Regions from separate parts of the Homo sapiens genome. Here regions 2, 3, 4 and 5 are each linked to region 1. Evidence: promoter capture Hi-C in human tissues and cell types (Jung and others, 2019). All regions are on one chromosome and are shown on one strand. Each heading gives the region's core, a stretch centred on a gene start or on the middle of the fragment in contact. The rest is flanking DNA. Distances are from core to core; before and after follow the strand shown.

Region 1 (2,770 bases), core at 85-2,584:
CTGTCCGACGGCGAGTTTTCGGAGCAGCAGGCTCATGATCCCGGGCCAGTGGCGAGAGCAGTGACACCGAGAACCCAAATCTCCGCGCCCCCATCCGCGGCCCGGTGTCCTCCCGGCCCCTGCTGACCTCCAGGTCACGCACCCCACTGCTCCACGGCTCTGCAGCCTGTGGCACACGGCCGAGAGTCCCCACATGATCTCGACGCCAAGGTAAGGAATTGCCCTGCGTCCTCTGAGCCTGTCTCTGGCCTGGGGGGCCGGGAAAGCTGCACTCCTGGAAGAGGTGGGGTTATGTGACCGCCGCTGCAGGGGTGCGCGGAGGACTCCTGGGCCGCACACCCATTTCCAGGCTGCGGGAGCCGGACAGGGGAGGGCAGAGGGGGGACAAAAGGACTCTTTAGGTCCAAAATGACCCTGAAGGAGAGTCCAGAATGCCCAGTGGCCGCGTCTGCAACGGAGTCTTCTTTCTCCAATTGCCTTCTGCCCCATCACCATGGGCCCCACCTGCGCCACCTGCGCCCACCCTGTGACCCTGGCTCAGCGACCTTGGCCCTTAATCGCCCAACGCCGATTCCTCAAAATTCCGGCTGCGCTGAATCGGGCTGCTTTTGCCGCCGCCCCGGCAGTTGGGCCCTGTTTCCGCCGGCGCCCTGGGAGAGGCCTCACCACTCGGCTGGGCTCCCTGGCCCCTCCCTTCCCCTGGCCTGAGCGCCCCTGCGGCCTCCCGCTCCTCCTGAGAAGGCGACAATCTCTTTGCACCTTAGTGTTTCGAGGACAGAAAGGGCAGAAGGGTCACTTCGGAGCCACTCGCGCCGTTTTCACGTGTGTGTGTAATGGGGGGAGGGGGGCTCCCGGCTTTCCCCTTTTCAGCTCTTGGACCTGCAACACCGGGAGGGCGAGGACGCGGGACCAGCGCACCCTCGGAAGGCTCGATCCTCCCCGGCAGGGCGCCTGGCCAACGAGTCGCGCCGCCTCCTCTCGGCCGCGCCTGCTGGTGACCTTCCCGAGAGCCACAGGGGCGGCCTCGGCACCCCTCCTTCCCTCGCCCTCCCTGCCGCCCATCCTAGCTCCGGGGTCCGGCGACCGGCGCTCAGGAGCGGGTCCCCGCGGCGCGCCGTGTGCACTCACCGCGACTTCCCCGAACCCGGGAGCGCGCGGGTCTCTCCCGGGAGAGTCCCTGGAGGCAGCGACGCGGAGGCGCGCCTGTGACTCCAGGGCCGCGGCGGGGTCGGAGGCAAGATTCGCCGCCCCCGCCCCCGCCGCGGTCCCTCCCCCCTCCCGCTCCCCCCTCCGGGACCCAGGCGGCCAGTGCTCCGCCCGAAGGCGGGTCTGCCATAAACAAACGCGGCTCGGCCGCACGTGGACAGCGGAGGTGCTGCGCCTAGCCACACATCGCGGGCTCCGGCGCTGCGTCTCCAGGCACAGGGAGCCGCCAGGAAGGGCAGGAGAGCGCGCCCGGGCCAGGGCCCGGCCCCAGCCGCCTGCGACTCGCTCCCCTCCGCTGGGCTCCCGCTCCATGGCTCCGCGGCCACCGCCGCCCCTGTCGCCCTCCGGTCCGGAGGGGCCTTGCCGCAGCCGGTTCGAGCACTCGACGAAGGAGTAAGCAGCGCCTCCGCCTCCGCGCCGGCCGCCCCCACCCCCCAGGAAGGCCGAGGCAGGAGAGGCAGGAGGGAGGAAACAGGAGCGAGCAGGAACGGGGCTCCGGTTGCTGCAGGACGGTCCAGCCCGGAGGAGGCTGCGCTCCGGGCAGCGGCGGGCGGCGCCGCCGGGTTGCTCGGAGCTCAGGCCCGGCGGCTGCGGGGAGGCGTCTCGGAACCCCGGGAGGCCCCCCGCACCTGCCCGCGGCCCACTCCGCGGACTCACCTGGCTCCCGGCTCCCCCTTCCCCATCCCCGCCGCCGCAGCCCGAGCGGGGCTCCGCGGGCCTGGAGCACGGCCGGGTCTAATATGCCCGGAGCCGAGGCGCGATGAAGGAGAAGTCCAAGAATGCGGCCAAGACCAGGAGGGAGAAGGAAAATGGCGAGTTTTACGAGCTTGCCAAGCTGCTCCCGCTGCCGTCGGCCATCACTTCGCAGCTGGACAAAGCGTCCATCATCCGCCTCACCACGAGCTACCTGAAGATGCGCGCCGTCTTCCCCGAAGGTGAGGCCTCAGGTGGGCGGCCGGGGACGCTGGGGAGCCCGGCGGCCCCGGCCCAGGCGGGAAGCGCAAGCCAGCCCGCCCAGAGGGGTTGCCGCGGCCTGGCGTCCAGAGCTGGGGCGTCTGAGGGAGGTTGCGTGAGGGTCTTCGGCTTCGGCGCTGGCTTGGGGCGAGGGGCCAGGGCCTTGGCGGCCCAGGCGACCAAACCCTCTCCTGGTCCAGGGCTGGGTGAGGGCGAATTACGAATTGTTCCAGGGGCAGGCAGTCCCCCAGCCCGCACGGCCAGCGAGTTCTTTCTGGTTTTGTTCTTTCTCCCTTTCCTCCTTCCTTCCTTCGCCAGTGCATTCTGGTTTGGTTTGGATTTTTTTCTCTCTTTCTTTCCTTTCTTTCTTTCTTTCTCTTTCTTTTTCTTTCTTTCTTCCTCTTTCTTTCATTCTCCCCTTCCTTCCTTCCTTGGCCCCCTCTCTCCCTCCCTCCTTCCTTCCTTCCTTTGCCAATGCATTGGTTTGTTTTCTTTCCTTTTCTGCTTTCCTTCCTTTCTTTGGAAGTTCACTCTGGTTTTGCTTTCTTTCTTTCCCCATCCCTTCCTTTCTTTATCCCTCCTTCCCTTCCTCCTTTTCTTTCTACGATTC
Region 2 (2,770 bases), core at 126-2,625, 210 kb after region 1:
ACATAAAAATTCTGAATAAAATTCTGGTTGTAAGAAATACCAAAATTACTATCTGTTTGATATAAATCTGCCTGGCATGTCTTCTCAAATGCACTCAAATTATGATTATGACTTGAGAGTTGCATATACAGCTGCTAATAATACATGTAGGGAAAAGGAATTAATTCATGACTCTTGCCTAAACTCTCCTAATGACCATGCAATGTAAAAATGTTACTGAAGAAAAAAGGTTTGGATCATAGACATCAAGACAAGTGGGCTGACATATAAGTAGCACTACCCACTCTGCAATACGCAAATGCACCTATTTCTTTGAACTCAACTATCAGAGGATAGCTAAAACGTCACTTCTATAGGGAGGATGTCTCTGACCCACAGCCGTTCACAAACTTTCGTAAACCCTTAGTTACTTTATAGCACTTATCACGACTATACATAATTTGTATAAGTGCTTATTCAATGCCACACTGTCTTATTAGAATATAAGTTCCATAAAGATAATATACATATGTTCCTGTTTTGCTCCCAACGGTATCCATGGAACCTAGGACAAAAGTGCATGCTTAATAAGCATTTACTGTATAAATGCACATTAAAACCTTACCAAGGAAAACTCTCCAAATAACAGATAGATAGGTAATCAAGAGGTAAAACTCAAAAAAGACAATGAGAGAGTATGGTCTTGAGATGGCTACGTAAGCATCAAAAATAATGCACAGTCTTTGAAATCATTACAGCTAGTTCTATTGACAACAAACAACCACTATCAGATTCCACTTCAAGGGGGTTTATAAAATTCTAATTAATGTTATTTTTCTAACATTTAATCTTCAAGAATTTAGTATTTCTCTTCTTCTAGGATTTCAGGTTAATTAAATATGATTTGGGTGGAACCAACAGCTGAATGCTTTATAGTCACATAAATGTGGCCCTTTTAAATCAGCCACAGCACCAGTCATTCTCAAGAAAGGTGAATATATTCTTTGTCTTTTATTGGGTCATGTTGCACAGGACATGAAAATCCAAAGGAATCTTAAAAAAAAAAATAGAACTAATAAGTGAGTTTAGCAAGGTTGTGGGATACAAGGTCAATATACAAAAATTGGCTGGGCACAGTGGCTCACGTCTGTAATCCCAGCCCTTTGGGAGGCCAAAGTGGGTGGATCACTTGAGGTCAGGAGTTCAAGACCAGCCTGGCCAACATGGTGAAACCCCACTTCTACAAAAATACAAAATTAGCCGGGTGTGGTGGCACACACCTATAATCTCAGGTACTTGGGAGGCTGAGACACGAGAATCACTTGAACCTGGGAGGCAGAGGTTGCAGTGACCTAAGATTGTACCATTGCACTCCAGGCTGGGCAACAGAGTGAGACTCCATCTCAAAAAAAAAAAAAAACAAAACAAAAATTGGGTGCATTTCCATATACTAACAATAAATATTTGGAGCCTGAACTTCTTTAAAATATCATTTTAATGGCATCAATAGATCTGAAATATTTAGGGACATATTTAACAAAATATGTGCCAGACCTGTTTACTGAAAACTACAAAACACTCCTGAATTAAAAATTAAAGATGTCTGAGCATCATAACTCATACTCGTAATCCCAGCACTTTGGAAGGCTGAGTATGGAGGATCACTTGAGCCCAGGAATTTGACACCAGCTTGGGCAACATGGAAAGACCTCATGTCTAAAAAAAAGAGTTTTTCTTTAATTAGCTGGGTGTGGTGGCATGCACCTGTAGTCCCAGCTAGTCAGGAGGCTGAGGTGAGAGGATCACTTGAGCCCAGGAGCTAGGCTGCAACAAGCCATGATGGCACCACTGCACTCCAGTCTAAGCGACAGAGCGAGACCCCATCTCAAAAACACAAAAAGAAAATTAAAGAGGCTGTAAATAACTGAAAAGATACACCATGTTCATGGATCAGAAGACTAACACTGTTAAGATGTCAATTCTTCAAATTAATCTATGGGTTCAATGTAATCCCAGTCAAAATCCCAGAAGGCTTTTTTTTTTTTTTTTTGTAGAAATTAACAAGCTGAAAATAGAAACTATTTTAAATGGTCAAAACAATTTTGGGAAGGAACAAAAAGTTGGAAAACCTACATTATCTGCTTTCAAGACTTACTATAAAGTTGCAGTATATCAAGACGGTGTGGTATTGGCACACAGAGATAGGTATAGATTACTGGCACAGAATAGGGTACAGAAATAGGGCCAAACATATAAGTGTGATTGATTTTTTTTAATTTTTTTGAGACAGCGTCTTGCGCTACCACCCAGTGGGGAGTGCAGTGGTGTGATTACAGCTCACTGCAGCCTCAAATTCCTGAGCTCAAGCCAACCTCCCACCTTGGCCTGTTTGATTGATTTTTGACAACAGTGCCCAAGATAACTGACTTGAAAAATGATAATCTTTGCAATACATGGTGCTGAAACAAACATTCATATGCAAGAATATGAAACCTTGATCTCTATCTCACATGTATATAAAAATTAACTTGAAATAAATCATAGACCTAAATGTAAAACTACAAACCTTCTAAAATAAAATACAGGAGAAAACCTTTCTGACTTTGGGTAGGTAAAGTTTTTTTCAGATGGAACAAAATAAGCATGAACCATAAAAGGAAAAAAGTGATAAGCTGGACTTTATAAAAATTAAGAATATTAACAACTGCTGTTCTTGAAGAGATAATGCTGGCCAGACATGGTAGCCCACACCTGTAATCCCAGAACTTTGGGAGGCTGAGGTGGGTGGATC
Region 3 (2,770 bases), core at 164-2,663, 190 kb after region 1:
CAGGTGTGAGCCACCGTGCCCGGCCCAGTCTGAGGTTTTTGTATTTCATTTTTAGGTAAATTCTGTATGCACATATTACCCAATTTTAAACTGAAAACTCTATTAGCATCAAGGTGACCTCTGGAACCAAAGGGCAAAGAAAGAGGCAGGTACAGACTTCCCCATCATTCCTCCTTCTCATCTCCTTGCCCTTCCACAACCAGGGAAAATCCTTCTCCGCCAGGCAATGACTTCATCGTTTCCTTCTCACTAATTTGAATACTCTTATGGGAGAGCCAAACAAAAAATGAAAATGATGAATGACTCCTTGTGCAATGCAGAAAAAATGTGGCGTTTGGGATCTCACAGTGACGGAATACCCCTCATGCAGAAACAGAACATGCTTCTCTCCAAAACAAAAAGCAGAAACAACAAAGGTATTTCAGAGCTCAGAAGGTGTTTTGCCAAATGGTAGGTGTGTAAAAGATTTTAAAGGGGCAGGTGAAAGCAAATCAACTCTCACCTCCAAAGCAGGTAACTGTTTTATTTGAAAGAAAAACAAAAGTTCCCTCTAAATAAGCCACAAAGCTAAGTCAGGGGAGAAAAAGAAATGGAAGAGAGGGATGCCTAACAAGTAGGAGGAAAAATACCTGCTGGGATAACTGGCACATTTATTTTAAACATTGACAGATTTTGACTAAAACATATTTTTAAGCCGGAACTCAACCTCTATCTGCACACCCCATGTGTCCAGGTGACTGGTCAGACCTCAATCATGAACACTAACGTCTAAGAATATCTAAAAAAGTTTCTACTTAGAAACTACTGTTAAATCATAATCCAAGTTTGGGCAATGCTGCTTTCTTATCATAGATTTCTTACTGCATCAGAATCTTGAAACATATGCTCAGGTTTTATTTGCAGTTTCCACTGTCGGTGGCTATCAGCAGCGCTGTGTGGGGAAAGCACCTGTCTTCCTTGGTAGCTGAAGAGGAGATTAAACCAACTCTTGGTGGCCACCCCACTCCGTGTCAGAGACTATGCAATGGGCTTTCCACAGCACCACCTGCTCTGACCTTCCCCACATGAATGGCTGCCAGGTCCGACCCGCAGACCATGGCTGAACAACGGATGAACAAATGCACTCAGACACAAGAATCCAGTGAAAGAGCAGGCTAGGGGACCCGGCCACCCACAGACACCAAGGAGGGTGCTGTAATGAGTCAGCAGCCACAGCCCCGAAAAGCCGGCACTGTGGGCATTTATTCAGTATAGATTTAATGACAAAGGCCTTGAGTCAACACATTTGTGGGCAATTCACATGGTCACCCAGACCCGGAGAGAGTAGTTCTGTGCGTGGATGCTTAAGGGCGAGGTTCCAAGGCCTAAGTAAACTAACTTACCTAGATCAGTTTATTTATATCCCCTTGTTATCTAACGTAAGCTTTCAGGCACCAGATAAAAGAATCTGGCTGCCTTCAGCCAAATCCTTTTCCGAAGCTTTTGTAAAACCTTCCAGCCTTCCAAGAAGGTTTGCATCTTCTGCAATTTTTCCCACCACCCTTACCAATCTCCTACAAATGGCATTACCATGAGTGGGCATTATTGCAGCTTGTCCATTTTAAGATGAGATGTCATGGAATTTGCCCCAGGCCAGTAGCCAATGAAGCTCCAGAGCCTGCCCTGCTTTCAGCATCCCATGCAGCCTTGCCCAGTGGGAAACCAGACTTCTAATAAACTCAGGCTGGTTATTCCAAGGTCATGTCTTTGGCCCTTCTGCTAAAGAATAACTCCTTTACAATCTAAAGACTAGAGTGGAAGCAGTTCCAACCCTCAGCAGATTCAGCTCACTACTAAACTAAAATCAACACATTTGGATTTTTCTCTAAGGTAAACCTGAACTGGGGGGAAAAGAGCATAGAGAAGTCCCTGTCACCCTCTTTATTGATTATCTTTTCTAACCCTAAACCTTGCCTTATTACCTTTTGTGGTCTTTTATTGCTTGTTTAAATAAAACAGAGGCATTTGACAAAATGAATATTAAATGTAGTTACAATCAAGCAATTCTGCAGAGTAATAAACATCTGGGGTTTTTTTTAGAGCTTAAAGAGAATGTAGTAATGTCAGGTGCACGTGTTTCTGACTGTCATGGAAGGTTCAGGGGTCTCAGGAAGGTGTGGGTGATGCACAAGGCATATCCAAGGGACTGCGAAAATGTTCAAACCACTGCAGATTTGGCTCTTTTGAAATGACTGTGAATTACCTGTGAAAATGATAACTAAAGGGTTAAGATTTCAAAAAAAGAGAAGGTTCAATGAAAAAGAGACTTGCTTCACATATAAGAGAAACACAAACATGGACAACTGACTATGTTTTCTCATCTTTCAAAAAAAGTTGGACTAAAATATTTTTGGCACAACAGTAACCAGCAACAAACAATTGGTTCTAGTATGAGAAAAAAACTGTCGAAATCTTCAAACAAAAACTCCATTCCAAGAAAACACCTACCACACCAGGCACGGTGGCTCATGCCTATAATCCCAGCACTTTGGGAGGCCAAGGTGGGAGGATCGCTTAAATTCAACAGTTCAAGGCCAACCTGGGTAACATAGTGGGACCCCTGTCTCTACAAAAAATTTAAAAATTATCCAGGCATGGTGGCTCACGCCTGTGGTCCCAGCTACTCGGGACGCTGAGGTGGGAGGATCACTTGGGCCCAGGAAGTTGAGACTGCAGTGAGCCATGATCAGACCACTGTACTCCAGCCTGGGTGACAGAGCAAGATCCTGTC
Region 4 (2,770 bases), core at 180-2,679, 140 kb before region 1:
AAAGAAGGCTATTATTACAATCATCTCTGAGGGATGATAGATCCTCTAGCTAATGTGTATTCATAGGGGTAATGTCTCTGATTAATCCATCAGCACCATTGTCACACAGGGAAACAGATACCCTGAAGAAGAGGACTAGGATGGGTACTGTTGAAAGAGGGTGGGAAATCTGGCAGGGTATGGCTTTCTATGGGGCTTCATGAGCCTGCATCTCAGACCCTCTTTGGCAGATTTGAGTCACCAGGAGGGACCCAAGGGCAGGAAGTAGGCTACAGCCAAGAGATGGGCACCAAGAGGAAACAGGAAACACATGGGACATCCACTTTGTAATTCTGCACCCAGCTCATTCTTCAGCTAAGTACTAAGCTTATTCCCATTTTCTGGCTCTTAAACCATAACAAGACCTCTTCTGAAATATTCCTGAGGAAAAGGACCTATTTTCTTCTCTAAGGAAAAGCCCCACCAAGTCTCCAGAGTTGATCGCTTCCAACCCATGTGTCATCTTGTGTTTATGATTTTCCCATCAGTTTTGCTTTAAAAATTAATTTTTAATAATCTCTAAAGAAATGCGTTCACCCTTATCTTTAAAATATTCAAAGGATCCCCTATCCATTCTGTGCTTTTTTTTTTTTTTCATGAGCAAATTACATCTGGCCTCTTTCCCGCCTGGGGAATAGGCAGTGATCATCTGGGATGGAGACTTGGCTGGTTCTCAGCACAGTCAAGCGGTGTAGTTTTGTGGTGAGCCCACTGGCCTGGGAATTCTAATAACCCTGGCTTCATGGGTAATTTGGGGTAAGTTATTCATTCTGTTCTTCATCTGGCTCCTCTGCAAAATGGGGCAAATAATAATATGGCATGATTTCGAAGCCATAACAAGATGATGGAAATGAAAGTGGTCACCTTCATCTAAACATGAACTTGGGTGCTGCAAAAATGCAGAATGAAATGTTATCATTCTTCAGGGGAGTCATATTTCATGAAGACCTCTGTGTTTTAATCACTAACTTAAAAGTAAAAGAAGGAAAGGAAAAAAATTAATGATAGCAGCCTGAGATGCATGGGCTACATTCTCTGCTGCTTAGAGAACAAGAAAATGCATGACACTGTTTTGAAAAGTTAATCACGGAGGGCTTTGAAGGGTTTCATCTAGAACAAGTTGCAGGTAATATGGGAAAAAGATTGGAGTCATAGCATCTCCGTGCATTATTGGGGTTTTAAATCCTAAATCACTACATACAGTGCATATTCTGGTTTAGGCTACCCAACTGGATATGTTGGCCTGGTTTCCTTACCGTAGCGCTCTCTGTTAATAACTAAACATGTTGGAGAAAAAAAAAAAGCAGGGCTTTTTTCAAAGTTGCAAGTCAATGTGCTGTAAACATGGGTCTGAGGTTAGGATATTGAATTCCGTGAATAACAACAATCTGTCTTACTCCATTAATCAGAGGTTTACAATCCTTACAGTCTTATGAGCCATAGGGCCGTCACTGATAATTCTCTGTCAAAGAGAAATGGAATCATCTAGACATGTGCTTAAAGAGGAATTTTTCCCCTTGTTGATTTTATGTAGGAAACGATTATTAGAAAATGTTGGCTCCCATGGAGGTTCGGAGACTGTGGGAAGAGACCTCATGGTGGGGATAGTGGAGATGCGAAAGACACGTGGAGCCTTTTGGCAGACAGGGCTCAGCAAAAAGAGGTCCAGCAATTTGTTGGGCAAGGTCTCTGCGTGGTCTCCTCTGGGACCTATTCCAGAGCAGTGAAACTAATAATCCTCAAATTCACTCCCTCTCCCCCAGGCGCCATTACGCCATATTTGAATTATGTTATCAAAAAGACAGACGTGGATTCAGTTCTGATCCCCCAAACTCTTAAGGAAACGTGCCCCTTCCCTAATGGGAAAGTGTATTCGATGACCTGAAAGTTCACATGCCTTAAATCTGGCCGCCCTACTCCCCAGTCCTGGGCTGCACCCTCGTTCTGTGGAGTTCTGAGAAATGCCGAAGATGAGGCAGGTGGCAAATGTGGCTCCCTGAGAGCTAAACCTGACATCAAACCAGGAGCTCGGCTCAGTGTTTGTCAGCAAAATTAGCCTTTTCTTGCAGTGTTATATAAATTTTCCATAGAAATCTGGCATGTGTCAAGAATATGTGTCAAGAAGGATGCCTGTTTTCCTAACTTAGGTGTAATCACCAGGTGCCCTACTTAAATTTATGTGCAAGGGTGTAGGCACCAGAGAAAACTACCAGCTATCGCTAAGCCAACAAAAGCCATCAATTAGGGATGAAAAGTGTGAAGAGTTGGGATGGAGTTGCCTTCCATTAACACCTCTGATTTGGATCCTTAAGATGACAGAACCACCAGTAAAACCCATTTCCAGTATCTAGAACAGGTGTGGTTTCGCCCCTGGAGGACAGCCTTGGCTGACACTGAGAGAAGGGGCTGGGATTGAGTCTCTTTGGTGAGCAACCTCCTAGATGTAATTCTAGAGTCAATTCCAGGGCGTTTCACCAGAGACCTCAGGTGATGTGTATGGCTGTGGTTGTAAAATAATTTCCCACCAAAGACGCCCATGCCCTCATCTCCAGAACCCATGAGTATGTTATGTTACATGCAAGGGCAGTGAAGGTTGCAGAGGGAATTAAGGTTGCTAACCAGGTGACTTCAGAATAAGGAGATTATCAGGTGAGCCCAATGTAGTACCAAGGGTTCTTAAATGTGAAGGAGAGAGGCAGAAAGTCAGAGCCAGTGTGATGTGAGTGAGAAA
Region 5 (2,770 bases), core at 199-2,698, 130 kb after region 1:
ACAGGGGCCAGGTGCGGTGGTTCATGCCTGTAATCCCAGCATTTTGGGAGACTGAGGTGGGCTGATCGCTTGAGCCTAGGGGTTCGAGACCAGCCTGGGCAACATGATGAAACCCGAAACCTTGTCTCTAAAAAAAGTTTAAAAAATTAGCAGGGCATGGTGGCACACATCTGTAGTCTCAACAACTCTGGACAAGCCCCTGGAAGTTGAGGCTGCAGTGAGCCATGATGATGCCACTGTACTCCAGCCTGGGCAACAGAGTGAGACCCTCTCTCAAAAAAAAAAAAAAAAAAAAAAAAGGGTAGACACAGGTGATCCCTACATCCAGGATGAGGAGGCTTTTACTCTGAGGTATCTACCCTAGTTATCCCCAGAAAGCCATTCCATTTCTTTAAAGGGAGGAATCACCCTAAGGCAGCTTCATCATTGTCATCCTCCACCTGCTTTTCATCTCCCCAAATTCGGTTTAAATCTTATCTGCTGATAACCACCTTTATTTCCTTTGATGTTGTAGATGTTTAACTATTAGTTTTGTATAATCTTTTCGGAGGGTTTTAAGAAGGGGAGAAGATAAACTCAACACGTGATCCCATGGCCTTATTCAAGTAGAAGCTCCAATCTATTTTTTTTAACATTGTTTCCTGATATTAAATCAAATAAGAGATGTAGGGTTCTCCTGATTACAATTAACTCTCTCATATGGCTAAATAAGGACATGACAAGTTATGCAAAACGTTTCTTTAAAGCTCTCTTGAAAGTGTTCAAGGAAGTGGGAAGACATAGAAATCTTTGAGGGTAGCCAAAGGGAAGGAAATAAATTACATGTCTCAGAATATAGAAATAAAGTTACTGGGCCGGCATGGTGGCTCACACCTGTAATCTCAGCACTTTGGGAGGGCGAGGTGGGCAGATCACTACAGGTCAGGAGTTCGAGACCAGCCTGGCCAACATGGTGAAACCCTGTCTCTACTAAAAATACAAAAAACATTAGCCAGGTGTGGTGGCATGCACCTGTAGTCCCAGCTACTCAGGAGGCTGAGGTAGGAGAATCACTTGAACCTGGGAGGTGGAGGTTGCAGTGAGCCAAGATCATGCCACTGCACTTCAGCCTGGGCAACAGAGCAAGACTCCAACTCTAAAACAATAAATCAATCAAAATAAAGTTATTGTATCACAGCAGCTATGTCATCTGGAAACAAAATATTCTATTTAGGTATGGAGTGGTTTAGGGTTAGGTCTCCTTTATGAGTAGAAGGGAATATATTTAAAATTTTTTTTAAATACAATTTCCTATATTTCAGTTTCAGAACTGGTTCTAAATCACTGGCTCTGAGCAATTTCGCTAGAAATGCTCCCTAATGACCTGCCCTGAGCTAATAGCATCGAGATCATTGATTAGACACAAGACAAGGAGCCCAGGACACAGGGCACAGCTAAGCTTTCACAGCTCAGATTTTCAGCCTTTCCATCACCACGGTGGAAGGGGAAAAAAAATCCTTTCAGTTCCCTGAAGGATGTGTTCTTGCACATAAATTGGCATTTAGGTTCAATTAGATACTGAAGGCCTGGTCCTTTAAGGCCAGCCGGGTGGGTTGCGGCTAGATATGCCTCGGCGCCTCTCCTCTGTCCTATTACTGGGCAAGTGTCCTCTGGCTGTATGTGCTCCAAGTTATAACCTAACGAAAGGGCAAAAAGGTAGAAGAGATGGCTGATGAGGAGGAAGAGGATGGAAAGAAAAGGAAGACAAAGATTTCCCTGACTATGCACATAGCCAGAATCTCAGCAGGTGAAATTACACAGCACAGAGAATCTCGATGAAGATTCTAATATAGATCACACAACTCTGAAGCTTTTCTCTTTAACATGAGACTCAGTTAAGGGTTGGAAGGGAGCTGGTGAGCAATGAAACAGTAAAGTACAAGAGGGCTCCAGCTTCCCGACCTCACTCACAGTCTAGGCTAGATTAGCACATGCCAGACACAGTTCTGTTCACTTTACAGCCATTGCTCATTTAATACTCACAACAATGACACTCACAGTATCTTCACTTTACAGATAGGGAAAATAAGGCATAGAAAGGTTAAGTGACTTGCCCAAAGTCACACAGCTAGTCCAAGGCAAAGCCTCAGCTCTGACATGGGAGGCCATTCCCTAACTCTTTGTTCACTGTTTTCTTTAAAACATGATCTTGGAATTACTTTCTCTCATTTAGCAATATCATGCTAATTCAAGAGTCAGTAAAATGTGTCCTTGAAGGTAGGTACAAAAAAGGATGTTCCCTCCAAAGGCAGCCCTCATCACAGCCTGAACCTTCAAAGGGTTGTAAGGAGCCTCAGATGCACAGCTGCCTTCTCTAGCACCACACTTTTGGTTCCACTGCTTAGACAACTAAGGAGAATGAAGAGCTTGTTCCTTATTTTCCAGCTTCTAGAAGGGCAAAGGAAGGGAATACCATGAGACAGAGGCCACACAGCACCCAAAAATAGAAGACCATTTTTTTTTTTTAGGCAAGGTCACCCAGGCTGGTGTACAGTGGCACAATCAGTCCATAGCAGCCTTGACTTCCCAGGCTCAAGTGATCCTCCCAGCTCAGCTTCCCAACCTGCTGGGACTACAGGCACATGCCACCATGCCTAGCTAAATTTTTTTTTTTTTAATTTTAGTAGAGATGAGGTCTCACTTTGTTGCCCAGGCTGGTTCTTGAACTCCTGGGCTCAAGTGATCCTCCTACCTAGGCCTCCCAAAGTGCTAGGATTGGCCGGGTGCAATG

The links. Contacts are between HindIII fragments. The study calls those that stand out against the background at their distance.
Region 2: a contact is called between a fragment that was not itself captured here and the fragment with the promoter of SIM2 in region 1, in 2 of the 25 tissues and cell types used here (dorsolateral prefrontal cortex and mesendoderm cells).
Region 3: a fragment that was not itself captured here is called in contact with the fragment with the promoter of SIM2 in region 1 in 3 of the 25 tissues and cell types used here (heart left ventricle, lymphoblastoid cells and mesendoderm cells).
Region 4: a fragment that was not itself captured here is called in contact with the fragment with the promoter of SIM2 in region 1 in 3 of the 25 tissues and cell types used here (IMR-90 fibroblasts, bladder and spleen).
Region 5: a fragment that was not itself captured here is called in contact with the fragment with the promoter of SIM2 in region 1 in 2 of the 25 tissues and cell types used here (liver and lymphoblastoid cells).

Annotation. Positions count from the first base shown.
Region 1 is chr21:36,697,781-36,700,550 of GRCh38, forward strand. It overlaps SIM2 (SIM bHLH transcription factor 2), which reads left to right and starts at 1,335. Exons shown (of 11, transcript NM_005069.6): 1 at 1,335-2,141. The coding sequence starts at 1,967. It overlaps LOC105369308 (a long non-coding RNA gene), which reads right to left and starts at 1,211. Exons shown (of 3, transcript NR_188246.1): 1 at 1,129-1,211. It overlaps LOC107985492 (a long non-coding RNA gene), which reads left to right and starts at 2,736. Exons shown (of 4, transcript XR_001755029.1): 1 at 2,736-2,770. RefSeq lists an enhancer at 2,562-2,770. The HindIII fragment of the contact is 19,577 bases long and covers 1-2,770 here.
Region 2 is chr21:36,904,666-36,907,435 of GRCh38, forward strand. All of the region lies in intron 5 of HLCS (holocarboxylase synthetase), which reads right to left. Among named protein-coding and RNA genes, the nearest start is that of HLCS-AS1, 60 kb to the right of the region's middle. The HindIII fragment of the contact is 8,102 bases long and covers 1-2,770 here.
Region 3 is chr21:36,882,736-36,885,505 of GRCh38, forward strand. The region is part of intron 6 of HLCS (holocarboxylase synthetase); the gene reads right to left. Among named protein-coding and RNA genes, the nearest start is that of HLCS-AS1, 82 kb to the right of the region's middle. The HindIII fragment of the contact is 3,396 bases long and covers 1-2,770 here.
Region 4 is chr21:36,562,078-36,564,847 of GRCh38, forward strand. It overlaps a transcript of CLDN14 not described here. Among named protein-coding and RNA genes, the nearest start is that of CLDN14, 83 kb to the left of the region's middle. The HindIII fragment of the contact is 4,931 bases long and covers 1-2,770 here.
Region 5 is chr21:36,830,547-36,833,316 of GRCh38, forward strand. The region is part of intron 6 of HLCS (holocarboxylase synthetase); the gene reads right to left. Among named protein-coding and RNA genes, the nearest start is that of SIM2, 130 kb to the left of the region's middle. The HindIII fragment of the contact is 5,234 bases long and covers 1-2,770 here.